5 separate regions of the Homo sapiens genome follow, and regions 1, 2, 3 and 4 are each linked to region 5. Evidence: promoter capture Hi-C in 16 types of primary human blood cells and fetal thymus (Javierre and others, 2016). All regions are on one chromosome and are shown on one strand. The core of a region is centred on a gene start or on the middle of the fragment in contact, and the rest is flanking DNA. Distances in the headings are between cores, read along the strand shown. Region 1 has its middle 23 kb from the start of CD24. Region 2 has its middle 99 kb from the start of LINC02836. Region 3 has its middle 150 kb from the start of LINC02836. Region 4 has its middle 170 kb from the start of LINC02836. Region 5 holds the start of ATG5 (autophagy related 5).

Region 1 (2,700 bases), core at 32-2,531, 670 kb after region 5:
CCTGCATGCTTTCCACAAAAGGCAGTGGAACTCCTGTCCAGCCTTCCACTCTTGGACACTCCATACATAAGTCCCCTGAATAAACTCTGTCTTTTTTTTTTTTTTTTTTTTTGAGATGGAGTTTCACTATTGTTGCCCAGGCTGCAGTGCAATGGCACAATCTTGGCTCACTGCAACCTCTGCCTCCTGGGTTCAAGTGATTCTCCTACCTCAGCCCCCTGAGTAGCTGGGATTACAGGCGTGCGCCACCATGCCCAGCTCATATTGTATTTTTAGTAGAGACCAGGTTTCTCCATGTTGATCAGGCTGGTCTCAAACTCCCGATCTCAGGTGATCTGCCCCTCTCAGCCTCCCAAAGTGCTGGGATTACAGGTGTGAGCCACCATGCCCGCCCTAAACTCTATGTCTTACCCACTGTCTTCAGGTCTTTTCTTCGGTCTCTCGGTGACTGTGCCTTCCCAGTTTGCCTGTTTGGGGGCCCAGCACAACACAAGGAAGAACGCAAGCCAAGGTCTTTCTTTGCTTGGATGATTTCTATGCATTTCTCAGGACCCAGATTAGTGTCATCTCCTTGGAAAGCCATCCCTTACCCTTCAGCCTTGGTTAGGGCCTTTCTGAAGTGTCCACCCCTGCATCCCCCAAGTCCCCAAGCTTTCCTCTGTCATTGTACGTGTAACAGGGATTGCAGCTTTTTCCTCACCAGCTGAGCTCCTTAAAGAAAGGAACCACATCATGTTCATCTTCCTTTCCCCAGTACCTAGTAAAGTGCCTAGTACATAATAAGTCCTCAGCAAATGAATTTCTACACAGGAACCACCAGAATCCAAGCACAATGAGAGGAAGGCCACCTTTTACTCTAACTCCGCCTACTCACTTTATCTTGAATTTATTAACATCCTAGGCTAAGAGCCATTTTATATCTCAACAGAAACAGCAATCTTAGAAAATATCTTCAAGTAACTCTTAAATTAGGATACTATTAAGCCTCCTGGCTAATCTTAGAGCCCTTCGATGGTAGTTTTTTGATTTATATAACCAGTTTCTAAAACACATCTTCACTCACTAATAAACCGACACGTATGTGGGTCATTCTTCTGAAATTTGTGTTTTATTCTAACTGTATATGAAGACTTTGATTTGGTTGTACATGAGAATTTAATCTTTCCACTATGGTGGTAATTTTTTATTTGTCTTAGAGCCTCAGATGTGGCCACCCTGGGTACAACAGGGCATATCATTTCTGTCTCATCTGTAACCTACAGGATCAAGCAGACCTGAGCTCAGATTTCAGCTCACCCACTTCCACCACAGACTTGCCTTTCTGAGCCTCCTGTAAAATGAAAATGATCATATTTATGCTGGAGAGTGTAACAGGATGTGAACATGGAAGTCCTTTCTGTCTCCATTTCAACCGAAGCTCAAAGGCCTTCAACAAAACAAGTTCTCAGGTTCCAAAGTGAGGTGCCAAGCGCCCCCTGCAGGAACTGCAGAGCAAAGGCGCTTTCTCCTCACCCCAGTCCAGTGAGAGGTGCTCTTAGGGGAATAACGGGAGAGACAAACACTTATCTCTTAGAGTTTAGTGGAAGAAGAAAAAAGAATGAGAAATTTAAAGGTCAAGGCTGTGCCAGAGCAGGAAAGGGGCTGCATCATGGGCAGCCTGCCCATCCTCCAACGTCAGCCAGAGACACTCAGCTCTACGTTCCAGACGTGGGCTCCCAGGAGAGCTCTCTGGGGTGCATTTTGAAAGGCCCCCAACCTGAGGTGACATTCTGCCATGGGCAAGCCAGCCTCAGCAGGGGCTGGAGGCGTTCCACAGAGCAGAAAGGGGGACGCGGTCGTGTGTGGGGGGCGTCAAAAGCAAGGCAGCAGCATTGCCCCAGTCAGGCCTGTTGCCACACTGGGGGCAGAGGGAAAGCTTTCTCTCTGCCCACTGAAGGTTTGCAGAGCATAAACTGATGAAATGCAGATACACAGGAGAAAAAGGCATACGAAATTTACTTAATGTGCATAGAAGAAAATCACAAGACTATGATTACCCAGTAACCCGATGAGGCCCGGCTGCTTATATTCTTCTCCATGGGGAAAGGGAGACAGGGGTTGTAGGAGTAAATGATTTCCAAAGGAAATGAATGAGCCAAAGAACGATGGCTGGGGACAAAGTTCCTTTGAGCACTGGGGAAGGCGGCAGGAAGGTGAGGGGTGGACTATTACTGTGAACAAGTGTTCTTTTTTTTTTTTTTTTTTTTTGAGACAGAGTCTCACTCTGTCACCCAGGCTGGAGTGCAGTGGCATGATCTTGGCTCACTGCAACCTCCACCTCCCGGGTTCAAGCAATTCTCCTGCCTCAGCCTCCCCAGTAGCTAGGACTACAGGTGCGCACCACAACGCCCGGCTAATGTTTGTATTTTTAGTAGAGACGGGGTTTCACCATGTTGGTCAGGCTGGTCTCAAACTCCTGACCTCAGGTGATCCACCTGCCTCAGTCTCCCAAAGTGCTGGGATTACACACACACATGAGCCACCGCCCAGACCATCAATGTTGTCTTATTATGCAGATAAAGTCTCCCAGGCAATCTCTCAGGGCTGCTGTCAGAAGAATAGTTAAAAGCTCCACCTGGTTCGGTGGCTCACCCCTGCAATCCCAGCACTTTCAGAGGCCGAGGCGGACAGATCACCTGAGGTCAGGAGTTTGAGACCAGC
Region 2 (2,700 bases), core at 34-2,533, 590 kb before region 5:
TAATGAAATGACTTAACTTGGCCAACCTTTGAATTTTAATGGGAAAGAAAAATCCTACAAGCCACATGTAGGGAGATGAACAAAATCTTGTTTCCCAGAAAAGGGATATTTTCCAGGTATCATTCCCGTCATCCCCTGCAACAAAAAGTCCTCAAATTCTCTACTCATTCCTATTATTTCTAATGTATATAAACAACAGAAAGACCTATTCTTGGACATACAAAGATAAACAAAGACCAGAAATCATTTATCTTTTCTGATATTTTGAAGTGAAAATATACACCAGCTGACTTAGAAATTAATAAAAAGAACAAACTCAAAACCTAGTTATAAAACCTAATACAAATGTCAAGAGAGTGTAAATAATGTAAAGAATTATTAGAGCATAATAAAAATAAGGGTAGTAAGTCAACTGAGCAAGGAAAAGGAGGAAATCAAAGAATGCTCAATGTTTTATTTCATACCAGGACATTAATAACTTTACATAAACAGCCTTAAAAAGATATAAAATATTAATACAGGATAAGCTAGCATCTCAAATCATCAAAGGAAAAATGAATTACTCAACAACTGGTTAAAACTACCATCTAAATCTGTGGGAAAACAGAAAATCAAATTGACACAATATATAAGGTACCAAAATGAATCCCAGATGGATTAAATATTGAAACGCAAAATATAAAACCATAATGAGGGCTATATGCAGTGGCTCATGCCTGTAATCCAGCACTTTGGGAGGCTGAGGCAGGAGGATCACTTGAGACCAGGAGTTTGAGACCAGTCTGGGCAACATAGTGAGCCTCTGTGTCTACGAAATTAAAAAAAAAAAAAAAAAAGCCAGGCATGGGGCATGGTGGCATGTGCTTGTAGTCACAGCTACTTGGGAAACTGAGACGGGAACTGCTTCAGCCCAGGAGTTTGAGGCTGCAGGGAGCTATGATCATACCACTGTACATCAGCCTGGGTGACAGAATGAGACCCTGTCTCTAAAATATAAATTGTTTAAATCCCATAATTTTACAAGAATAAAAAATAAGGGACTACATAGTCTAAGGAGAGAAAAGCTTTTCAGTGTGTAACACCAGACAAAAATATAAATAAAAAGGCTGATAAATATTATAAAATCATTTTTCACTGTACTTAAAAGAAACACCATACACAAAATTTGAAAACAATAAACTAGGGGAAAATATAGAGGTTAATTATATTAATTTATATACATTTTATAAATCAGTAAGAAAATGACTATTATATCAACTTTTTAAAAAAGAGTATATTCCAGATTTTGACAAGAAAGTAATATAAATGCTTCATAAATACAGAAAAAAAATCCAACTTGATTATTTAAAAAGTAAGGCAAGTAAAAGTACAATGACATGTTCAAAAGAGCGAACAATAAATAAGGAAATGTTAATGGCATATGTTCAAAAAACCTCCGCACAGAAAAACAGATCCTCGATAAATACGTGCAGACTGTTTTCTCCCCACTACCGTCTGTTTTGCAAAGCTTTTTCTGAAAATAAGTATCAGTTTGACACGATAGGGGATATTAAGGTCAGATGATTGCTTCATTATTTACTTTAATATTGATGCTTGCCTCTGATCTTCAGTTGGCTGTCCTTAACAAGCAAAACCTATAGTCACTTTAAATACCTTAAAATGTGATTTACTGTAACTCTCTTGTAACTAAAACTGCAGACATTTAAAAGTCAATATAATTAGAAAGTTGCTTTCTGTGTATAAGTTGTATTTTCACAATTAGTGTCCCCAGTGTGCCCCACTTTGGGGCAGATCAAATTATACTACAATGTGGGTGTATTTTCCTTAAAATATTTTTTTCATTTGGAAAAGACAACTCAAAATATTATGCATATATTTTAAATTCTCTTTTCAGAAAGAAGAAAACAATGCCTCCCACTACTCCACCCAGCAGTCTCCCTCCCACCCCCTGGGGCCATGGTTACAAAATTTGAAGAAATTTTCCATTTCCAGTTTGGATGCCAGATTAATTCATTCCTCTGTTGAAGGATTCCAGGAGCTCCAGCTTGGCTCCTGGTCAATTCGAGGACACTGGGAAGGTAAGGGTCAGAACCAGGCCTAACCTAATGAAGCACGTGTCCTCTTTAGTAGGCTCAGAATGACCTGGTCCCTAGGCTCACTTGAAGATAACTAGGCTTCTCTGAGAATCCTGTGAACCTAACATCACTCGAATTTAGTATATGTGAGACTCATTTACTCCTAGATTCAATGCTCAGAGGGTTGGGTGGATTCAGATTGCCTTCAGAAAATGAGTTAAAGATCATGGAATACATTCGCTTTAGAATTAGCAGGGATGAAAGGGAAAAAAGAACAGGCTTTACAGCATCAGGTAAAATTCAAGTATAACAAACCTGTGAATCTGACAAATCATTTCATGAGAGGGTAATTTTATGGAAACAAATATAGTCCTGGAAACAATGTTCACAATCTCAAGGACCTGGGGAGAGAAGAAAACTAACAACAGGAATAAATTATACATTAGGGAAACAAACACAGTTGATGGGAAAGGAAGGTTTCACCTTCAGACAGCTCTCCCCATTTTGTTTCTTTCTAATTCCAGCTCCAGATCCTTTTTGGTATGTGCATTCTTGTCTTGGTGAATTGTTTGGAGATTTATTATTATAATAATTATAATTTCCTTGTGGGGATGGTTAGAATATT
Region 3 (2,808 bases), core at 163-2,662, 540 kb before region 5:
GCAGATGATCATAAAATATATCCCCGACAGTCATTTCTTTTGGTTGTTATTGTTTTCAAAGTTTCATCTCTAAAATCTCTTAAAACCACTTGCCCAGCTGTGCTGAAAACAACTTACAATCAGACAATTATTTAACCCTAAGCAGGCATAAGGAGGAAGGACAATATGGTTTGAAGGTTTCTGCTCCTATATGTTGGAACCCAGCACAAAGAGGGATGCTTGCTACTTCCAAGAACCTGCACAAATAATTTGGATCATGATAAGATCACTCTGAATTGGTTATGCCCATCTAACTTAGATCATTGGATAAAATTTCGAACCCAAGAATCTTGACATGAGAGCTCACCTGATGATGCTTAATTGATGATATATTACCATCCAATGCCACCTGACTTATTCCTGAACAGGAGCAGGACTGGCAGGGAGGTGGGGGTAATAAAGGTGGAGGCCGATTATATTCAACTGTACTTAATCTCAGTGGCAGTGAAAGGGCCCTTCATTTGAATCAATTAAAAAAAACCTGCAGGGAAGAACGAGACCTTAAGGAGTCTTAAAATATCATCAGTGATAAAATATCATCAGTCAAGTGGGCTGTAGGTAATATGCTACTATCAACCCCCAGTCTATAGATGAACCAACCAAACCAAAAGAGATTAAGCAACTTGGACGGTGAAGCTAATAAAAGGGAAAGGAATATAGTGACCAAACCCAAGAAGCCCAGAGTGTTCTCGGTGCTGTATCGCTTGGGGCTTTCCTCATCTTTGTTTCTATTATTCAAGAATATAGTGTGTGTTACAAGTCAGGTATCAAATGTGTAAATAGGTATCGTGCCTGAAAGAAATATGTCCCGATGACCTGTAGGACTGGATTGTCTGAATTACAGTCCTTGCGACTGAATCCAGTTGGCGTGATGTAAGCATAAACGCACTCCACGTTTCATGAATAAGCTTAACGATAACAGAAAATACTTTCCTTCAGATTGCCTGGTGATTAAGGTAGTGGACATCTACCAAGCTCACGCTTAGGGAGGACGAACAACAGGTTTATCAACACTATACTTCACGGAGTGTCAGTCATGAGGTTTTCATGGAGAAGCCAGTTGTTTTGTTTGTTTTCTTAATGACATATTTTCATGTAGTTGGGAAGGGGTGTGCCCATTCAGAGCTTGACTATGACACCAGGAAGTAGAGCATTAGAGTGAAACCCATGAGACAATGACCTTAAGTACAGGTGGTTGCCACAGTGTCTATTATTAGGATCAGTGAAATACACTCAGAAGTCGTGTTGCAAGATGGCAGGATGGAAGGCCAGTTTCCCCTGACAAAGTGCAAAGGCATGCTATAAACACTTGCATGAACAAACAGCCTTTGCAGCAACCACAACCAGGAGGAAAATTAGAGGACATTTTCCACAACAAAAGCAGTATTGTTTTCCTGTGGTCACTCTGAAATTCATCCTTTGTTGCAGAAGACGCTGAGGCTCCATCATGGAACTGTGGCATCCCACCCAGCATTCTCCCTGTGGGCCGAAGTGATGGGATAAATTGATTCACAGCGAACTGTTCCTTCTGGCTAGGGATCCCACATCTTCAGTTCAATAGGAAAGAGTTCTCCAAAGAACAATGAGGTATAGTGGGCCAAGCCGATCAAGCAGACGTGGTACATCCAATTCTCTCTCAGGGGCTGGGACCCTGGCTGACCTAAGCCAGGACGACTACCTCTGGGCTCCCATTTCCTCATCTTCATGGTGGGGCTCCCCATGCCGGTCCTTAGTAACGATATTTTTACTATATATATGCATATAGCTCTTCCATAAGGCTTCTCCTAATTTTTATTTTTTAAGGTATGGAAGCCAAAACCTGTTTGCTAAGGGAAATGAAAAGCTTACAAGAAAACACATTTTGGTTGTGTAACAGACACGGACGATGCCAGACAACTGTCTGGGTTCATGTAAAGTCAGAGGGGGAATTACACAAACAGGGATAACAGGGAATCTCGGTAAAGCCTCCTGCCGGAGAGGCCTCCATCATCCTATGACTCCACAAATGCTCTCTCCCCACCCACTCCCGCCCCCAGTTGGGAGGTGAGTCATCTCTGCCGTTTCATCAAGGTGTGCCTAGACTGATTTTTGCCTTCTCGGTATCAAAGTACATGTGATTCAAGAACATTTGTTAATTCAACAAGGATGTGTATGAATCTCTTAAGTTCTCTGGCAGAATGGGATGGGGCATAAAAAAGTAATACTATTATAATTTAGTAAGCTCTAACAACATGCTAGACACCGAGGGTATAAAAGGTGAATAAGACCTGGACCCAGGTTTCAAGGGGCTCAAGATCTAGTGAGAAGCCTGACAGGTGAACAGATCACACAGGGTCAACACTACACTAGAAGTAGCCACAGAGTGTGCAGAAGACACAAGACATTGCCTACAATCCAAAGGCATGTTTATGCCATTTCTGCCATCTGTTTTTGGACCGGCAGAAATTCTTGAGAAAAGCATGTGGTTTTCAGAGGGTCCCCACCCTATCCCCCTTTACCTGGTCAGGTAAAAATGAAAGAAAATAATACAGGTGGAGTTCTGAGTGACACGATTTGCTGTAAGTTCAGTTAAGCTAGGAAAGCTCATTTCTAAAGAACTTCCTGTAAACAAGGTCCATGACTGTCTCCAGCTCATGATGAATAAATGAAATAATTGATCGCAACAGACACGTTGCCTCAAAGAAAGTGTCTCACACAATAATATGTCTTTTATTTTTCCTGTTCTGGGGTGTGGTTAGGTTGACTTTCCCTTGGTTAAGGGACTTTTGA
Region 4 (2,737 bases), core at 123-2,622, 530 kb before region 5:
CAGATTCTTCACGACTGATGTAAAATCTGAATGTAATATCAAACGTTTTAAGTGTTCTGATTTAAACCCCTTATATTTGAAAGAATTGGGCTCCTTTGATACTTGTTCTCATTACAGAATGAAAACTTGCATGTTATATATGATGCTTATGTATTTGCACATAAATATATATTTACATGTGATATCGATATATCCGCTTATGCATAGATTATATAGGTCTAAATGGACAAAATACAATTCTCAAGCTGTGGGTGACAGGCTTTTTGTCTGTTACTCTGTTGCGTACCTTTGCACTCTCATCCCTTATAGGAAAGGAACTACAACTAGGGATTTGAGGGTCATTAGAACATTGTGCCCACCCCCCAGGGTGGATAGCACACAGGACACATAGTATATATAGGATAAGGATGCTTCAGTCCTGTAGGGAGTAAATTCTTTCCTTAGCTCTTACAATACCACAACAGGTCAATCAGGTTGTAAGAAGCTTTAATTAGCTGTTCTACAAATTAGAGCATTCTTCAAGCTCAAAAAGATGTTTTCCATCTTGACACCATCTAAAGGAAAATCTTGAACAAAAGACTCACTCTCAATCTGGTTCATATTCTGTCATTTACTTCTATGGGATTAAAGCAAAACAAAAGCACTTTTTTTAAACTCTCTATACAGAGTGTACTATAATTGGATTCCTTGTTCCTCTTCCAAGCCAAGGCATTGGATCTGCATTGTTTCTGCCAAGTTTTTTCTCCACGCTGCAATGTCCTTGTTTGTGTTCTCTCCCAGTGTTCCAGGTTCTACTGTCAACCCAGGCTCAGGCTGTCCCACATCCTCCCACAGAGGTCTTGCTTTGTTTTGAGAAATGCTCAACAGAAGGAGGAAGTCCAGCATATCCACGGTGCAACTGAAATGCCACCCTAGGAAGACTAAGGCCTCATGGTGGGTGACAGCTGAGGTGACAGCTGAAGATGAGGCTGGCTGAGGGAGGACAATCCCACCAAAGTATAGCGGACACCAGCAGTCTCTCTAGGCTCCCAACAGTCCTAAGGCTGAAGAGACTGTGAACAGGTCTGCACAAAGCCTACAAGCAAAGAAAGTCATAAGCCTTAGGTTTCCCTGCAATGACTTTCTGCAGTAGGTGGAGGAAGGGAAGAAAAAACCTATCTCCATGGAAAAACCACCTTATAAGTCTTTCTATAAATTGCAGTAGAACAAAGGAAAAGTATATGCTCCTGCTGATTAACCATTTCTTTCAGAGGGATGTGGAAGAGTAGGAAACAGTATTGTAATAAAATCAAAACCTTATTTATTCTGCAAAGGTTACAAATCCATTTGACATTAGATAATTCCTTAATGAGGTGGTCAAAACAAAAACAAGTTGGTTAAATTACTGTTCTAATTTTCAAAAGAATGCTTTCAGTGAAAAGATTTCTTTATGAACACATAATGAGGTTGGTGTTTTGTTACTTGGTTAATACAACTGAAAGAGCACACCAGAAGATTCTGTACACCCACATCAATGGTCGCTGCAATGGCCCAGGATGACCACAGTGTGTTCCAATCATCATCTCCTCCCTACCCAACTCCACTCTCCTGACTCTGGGCTATGGCCAATACTGGCCTAGTTGACTTTCTTTGTCTCCTTTCCAAAAGCAACCGACTCTTCTCAGTGTGCCTCCCAGAGCATCATTCCAAGTATCACTCCTGATCCTCTCATCAGTGTCCCAGTAACAGAGTCACAACCAAGAGATCTCATCAGGACTATCTGCTCCAGGGGATAGGCCAGGCTGAGCTTGGCAGACACACCATATAGAGGCCTGGAGCTTCAGGGGCTTCTAGAACCACTCTCGCTTCCTGAGGCCCCCCCAAGAGGGGAACACTTTTCATCTCTGTACCCACCACCTTCATTCACATTCACATGAAATGTTTTGGAACCATTTAACTTCTACTCCCCCAGCCAGCACCTAAGCAAGATGAAAATTGACTTTAATAACATGGGCATTCATTTAAAAAAAAAATCTATTGAGAACCTACTCTGAAAAGCACTGTGCTAGGTGCTAAGGATACAGAAATGAAAAGACAAGTAGATCAAGGTGGTGGGTGTTAACAATAGTCACTAAGGTCATGCCAGTTCCTTTGTTCTGACTCTGATCATTACTAAACTCTTAGTTTTATATGGGCTTTAAAACACTTAGACAGCCTGATCTCACTTGATCTTCATGACAATCTTGTCGGAAAAGGATTGTTCATTGGTAGATGAAGAAACTGAAGCTTAAGAGGTAGTGAGTGATTTAACCCCAAGTCACATAGCTAGTAAGTGCTAAGATCGGGAATGATACTTGAAATTTATAACTATAAATCCACTGCTTGCTGCGTGCATCATCCAGCCTCTTCAGGGTCAAGGTGAGAAGTATTTTTCCAAGAAATATTCTGGCAGTAACAGCAACAAACAAGTCTTGAACACCTACCATATGCAAAACCTGTCCTGACCTCTGGGAAGAAGATGTCACAATACAAAGATGAATGCAATATTGTCCCTACTCATGGGAGTTAAGTGTAGGTGAGAAAAGTCACTGGCTGTGAACAACTAATTCAAGAAGTTAATGATTTGGTGGAAAGGGAAAGAGAAAGTATTGTGTGGAGGTCGGAACCTAAAGGATCCAGACTGAACTCTGGCATTATGTTTGGGAGCTGCTATCTTTACAGCTCATCCCAACTACTCTCAGGCCAAAAAACAGGAAGC
Region 5 (2,700 bases), core at 50-2,549:
TACCTTAATTTTTGTATCAATGTCTTCTCACCCCATCCCCAAAGTGGAACTTCATGATGGCAGGGATTTTTATTCTTTTGTTTACTATTTTGTTTACTGTTTTGTCCAGTGCCTAACACATAGGAGGTACTCAGTTTGGGGGAAATTAATGAAATAAATACACACTTGAGGTGTGTGCACTATTCTAAAAATCCATATCCATACAGTTCCATTCTGTACACTTTCCCCCAATTTTAAGTAGCATATCTTTGAAGATAAAAGCACAGGCTTAAATCTGGTGTAAAATACCTCTCAATTACTACCCTGAGCACAACATCGTTATTTTCAAATTCAAAATTCAACCAGAAACTCCCTCTATGGAAATCACAAATAGTTCAGTTCAGAGCCAAGTATCCAGTTTCAAGGTCTCAGAAATTTAACAAGCCAATTCTGGAAGGCTTTGGAAGTTCAGCTACTGTCTGGTAAGTCTCCGGGTTCTGATTGCTCAAGACAGGCTGTACCTCCTCACCCCTCAGAAAAATCTAGAACCAATAGTTTCCTAGGTTCCTCAAGTTCAGGATAATTTTAAAATAATCCAAAGTACAAATGAAGTATGTAAAAGTGTCTTGCCAACAGAAAATGTCTTTGGTAGCACTAAATATTGTTATTGAGACAGGGAATATCGTAAATAGATAAATTGCTTGGAGGACATACCCACCGAGTTTGGACAGACTCACACTGCACTGTGCAATAAAGGTTTAAATAACTGTGTTCCACAAACAATTCAGGTCCTGAACTGAACTCTAGAGCCTGCGACTAGACTCTCGCTTTCCTACCTTAGTAAGCAACAGACATGTACCCCAAGAGGGACCCCGCAGGCCACACCCGCCAACCGGCCCCAGGGCTCCGGGCCGGCGTCTCGCCAACTCCACCTTGCCCGGAGGAACCACCTTCACCCGCCATCGCGGCCGGGCGGGCGCTCCTCCAGGCAACTACTCACCCCTCCTTCCTACCACACCTACCTGGCCCCTCCCCAGCCCTCCTCCTCTAGGAATTTCCTCACACAAGGTGGACACACACACGTACCCTACTCCAAGCTATGGCTCCTCCTTCCGGCTCCCCGCACTGGTGGGGACGCCCAGATTCCGCGCTCCGGTGGGGCGGCGGGGCAAGCTGCCCGCCTGACACACTGTCCTGCGGGGACGCGGTAGCAGGACTCCAGGAAGCCCGCGCAGCCGCAAAAAGCACCGGCGCGGAGGTCGGAGCTGAACCCTGCTGCACTTCCGCCCTCTGGTATCCAGCGAATACAACCGGCAACGCTGCGGAGCCCTGGCAGCGCACCACAAGTCCAGTCACCCTCGGCGCCCGGAGATGACGTCACGAGACCCCACGTGGTCCGAACTCCGCCCTCCGTGTTCTGCCTAACCCAGCAAGGAGGCCCGAGTCGCTCTTGAGCATGCGCCAACGGGGCAGTACGCTTGAACTCGCGACCAAACCTCTCCAAGTTCATAGCTTCTACCCTCTTCTGAGAATCTTGCGTCAAAGCGTAGTTATTGGGGCTTGGGGAGGTTAACTTAACAGTTCCACAAAAACAGTTTTTAAAATACTGAAACACTGCCTCCCTAGAGCTTGATCGCAACATCCCTTTCTTCCTGGCATCACACAACAGTATTAATAAAACATTAGTTTTCAAAGTACTTTCCCATCCATTTTCTTATTTGATCTTCTTCTCTACTTTGTTGGAACCACCGCAGGCATTAATAACCTAATTTAACAGAAGACTATATGAGCACTGAACCCTCCCACCCATCCAAGAGTACATATCTTTATCTTACTCTTTGTAAAAATAATTGGGGCCGGGCGCGGTGGCTCACGCCTGTAATCCCAGCACCTTGGGAGGCCGAGGCGGGCGGATCACGAGGTCAGGAGATCGAGACCATCATGGCTAACACGGTGAAACCCCGTCTCTACTAAAAATACAAAAAAAATTAGCCGGGCGCGGTGGCGGGCTTCTGTAGTCCCAGCTACTGGAGAGTCTGAGGCAGGAGAATGGCGTGAACCCGGGAGGTGGAGCTTGCAGTGAGCCAAGATAGGGCCACCGCAGTCCCGCCTGGGCGAAAGAGCGAGACTCCGTCTCAAAAAAAAAATAGTAATAATTGGTAAACTTACTAATAAAGAATCTTTGAATTGGCTCTATCCAGAAGTCTTAGCAGGCATTTAAGGTTTTTCTCTTAATTACACGTGCCTTAACGCCATGCATGTTAAGTAAGTACTGTGCTGAGACTCAAAACAGGTTCTTGATAATTGGGAACATAAGGAAAATTCTAGTAGTAGCCACAGGATTCTTTTAAAAAGAAAAATCTTCTTGGAGTTGGACTAAGTACAATGATTTTCAAATGGTAAATTACAGTACATTAGTGGGTATCTAAATCAAGTTAGGGAAGCATGCCCAGCATCTTTTTAAATGAAATAAAATAGAAAATATCAGCATGCTTCACACATGTAAAGGGTAAATATTGTGTCCCAAAATTTTTACTTCAGTATGTATGTGGTGTACACTGGATAGGAATGTGAAATACATTTCTTAGTAAGGGTAGCAGTCAGAAAAGTTTGAAAGCCACAGTTATGGTCCTCTTCACCTACTCAATGCAGAAATCCTCACTACAGTGTCCCCAGTAAACAGCTATTAGCCTCTGTAAGAAAGCTTGTGGGATTAAGGTG

Evidence for each region. The method cuts DNA at HindIII sites, captures the fragments that hold promoters and counts their contacts. A CHiCAGO score of 5 or more calls a contact.
Region 1: a fragment that was not itself captured here is called in contact with the fragment with the promoter of ATG5 in region 5 in 8 of 17 cell types (neutrophils, M0 macrophages, M1 macrophages and 5 more); the score reaches 12.6 in neutrophils.
Region 2: a contact is called between a fragment that was not itself captured here and the fragment with the promoter of ATG5 in region 5, in 1 of 17 cell types (activated CD4 T cells). The highest score is 5.4, in activated CD4 T cells.
Region 3: a contact is called between a fragment that was not itself captured here and the fragment with the promoter of ATG5 in region 5, in 1 of 17 cell types (neutrophils). The highest score is 5.1, in neutrophils.
Region 4: a fragment that was not itself captured here is called in contact with the fragment with the promoter of ATG5 in region 5 in 1 of 17 cell types (neutrophils); the score reaches 5.8 in neutrophils.

What each region holds. Positions count from the first base shown.
Region 1 is chr6:106,996,331-106,999,030 of GRCh38, forward strand. No RefSeq gene overlaps it. Among named protein-coding and RNA genes, the nearest start is that of CD24, 23 kb to the left of the region's middle. The HindIII fragment of the contact is 1,264 bases long and covers 650-1,913 here.
Region 2 is chr6:105,729,889-105,732,588 of GRCh38, forward strand. No RefSeq gene overlaps it. Among named protein-coding and RNA genes, the nearest start is that of LINC02836, 99 kb to the left of the region's middle. The HindIII fragment of the contact is 443 bases long and covers 1,063-1,505 here.
Region 3 is chr6:105,779,375-105,782,182 of GRCh38, forward strand. No RefSeq gene overlaps it. Among named protein-coding and RNA genes, the nearest start is that of LINC02836, 150 kb to the left of the region's middle. RefSeq lists a silencer at 1,126-1,326. The HindIII fragment of the contact is 935 bases long and covers 946-1,880 here.
Region 4 is chr6:105,798,461-105,801,197 of GRCh38, forward strand. No RefSeq gene overlaps it. Among named protein-coding and RNA genes, the nearest start is that of LINC02836, 170 kb to the left of the region's middle. The HindIII fragment of the contact is 1,781 bases long and covers 483-2,263 here.
Region 5 is chr6:106,324,461-106,327,160 of GRCh38, forward strand. It overlaps ATG5 (autophagy related 5), which reads right to left and starts at 1,300. Exons shown (of 8, transcript NM_004849.4): 1 at 1,066-1,300. RefSeq lists enhancers at 1,110-1,159, 1,180-1,499. The HindIII fragment of the contact is 6,577 bases long and covers 1-2,681 here.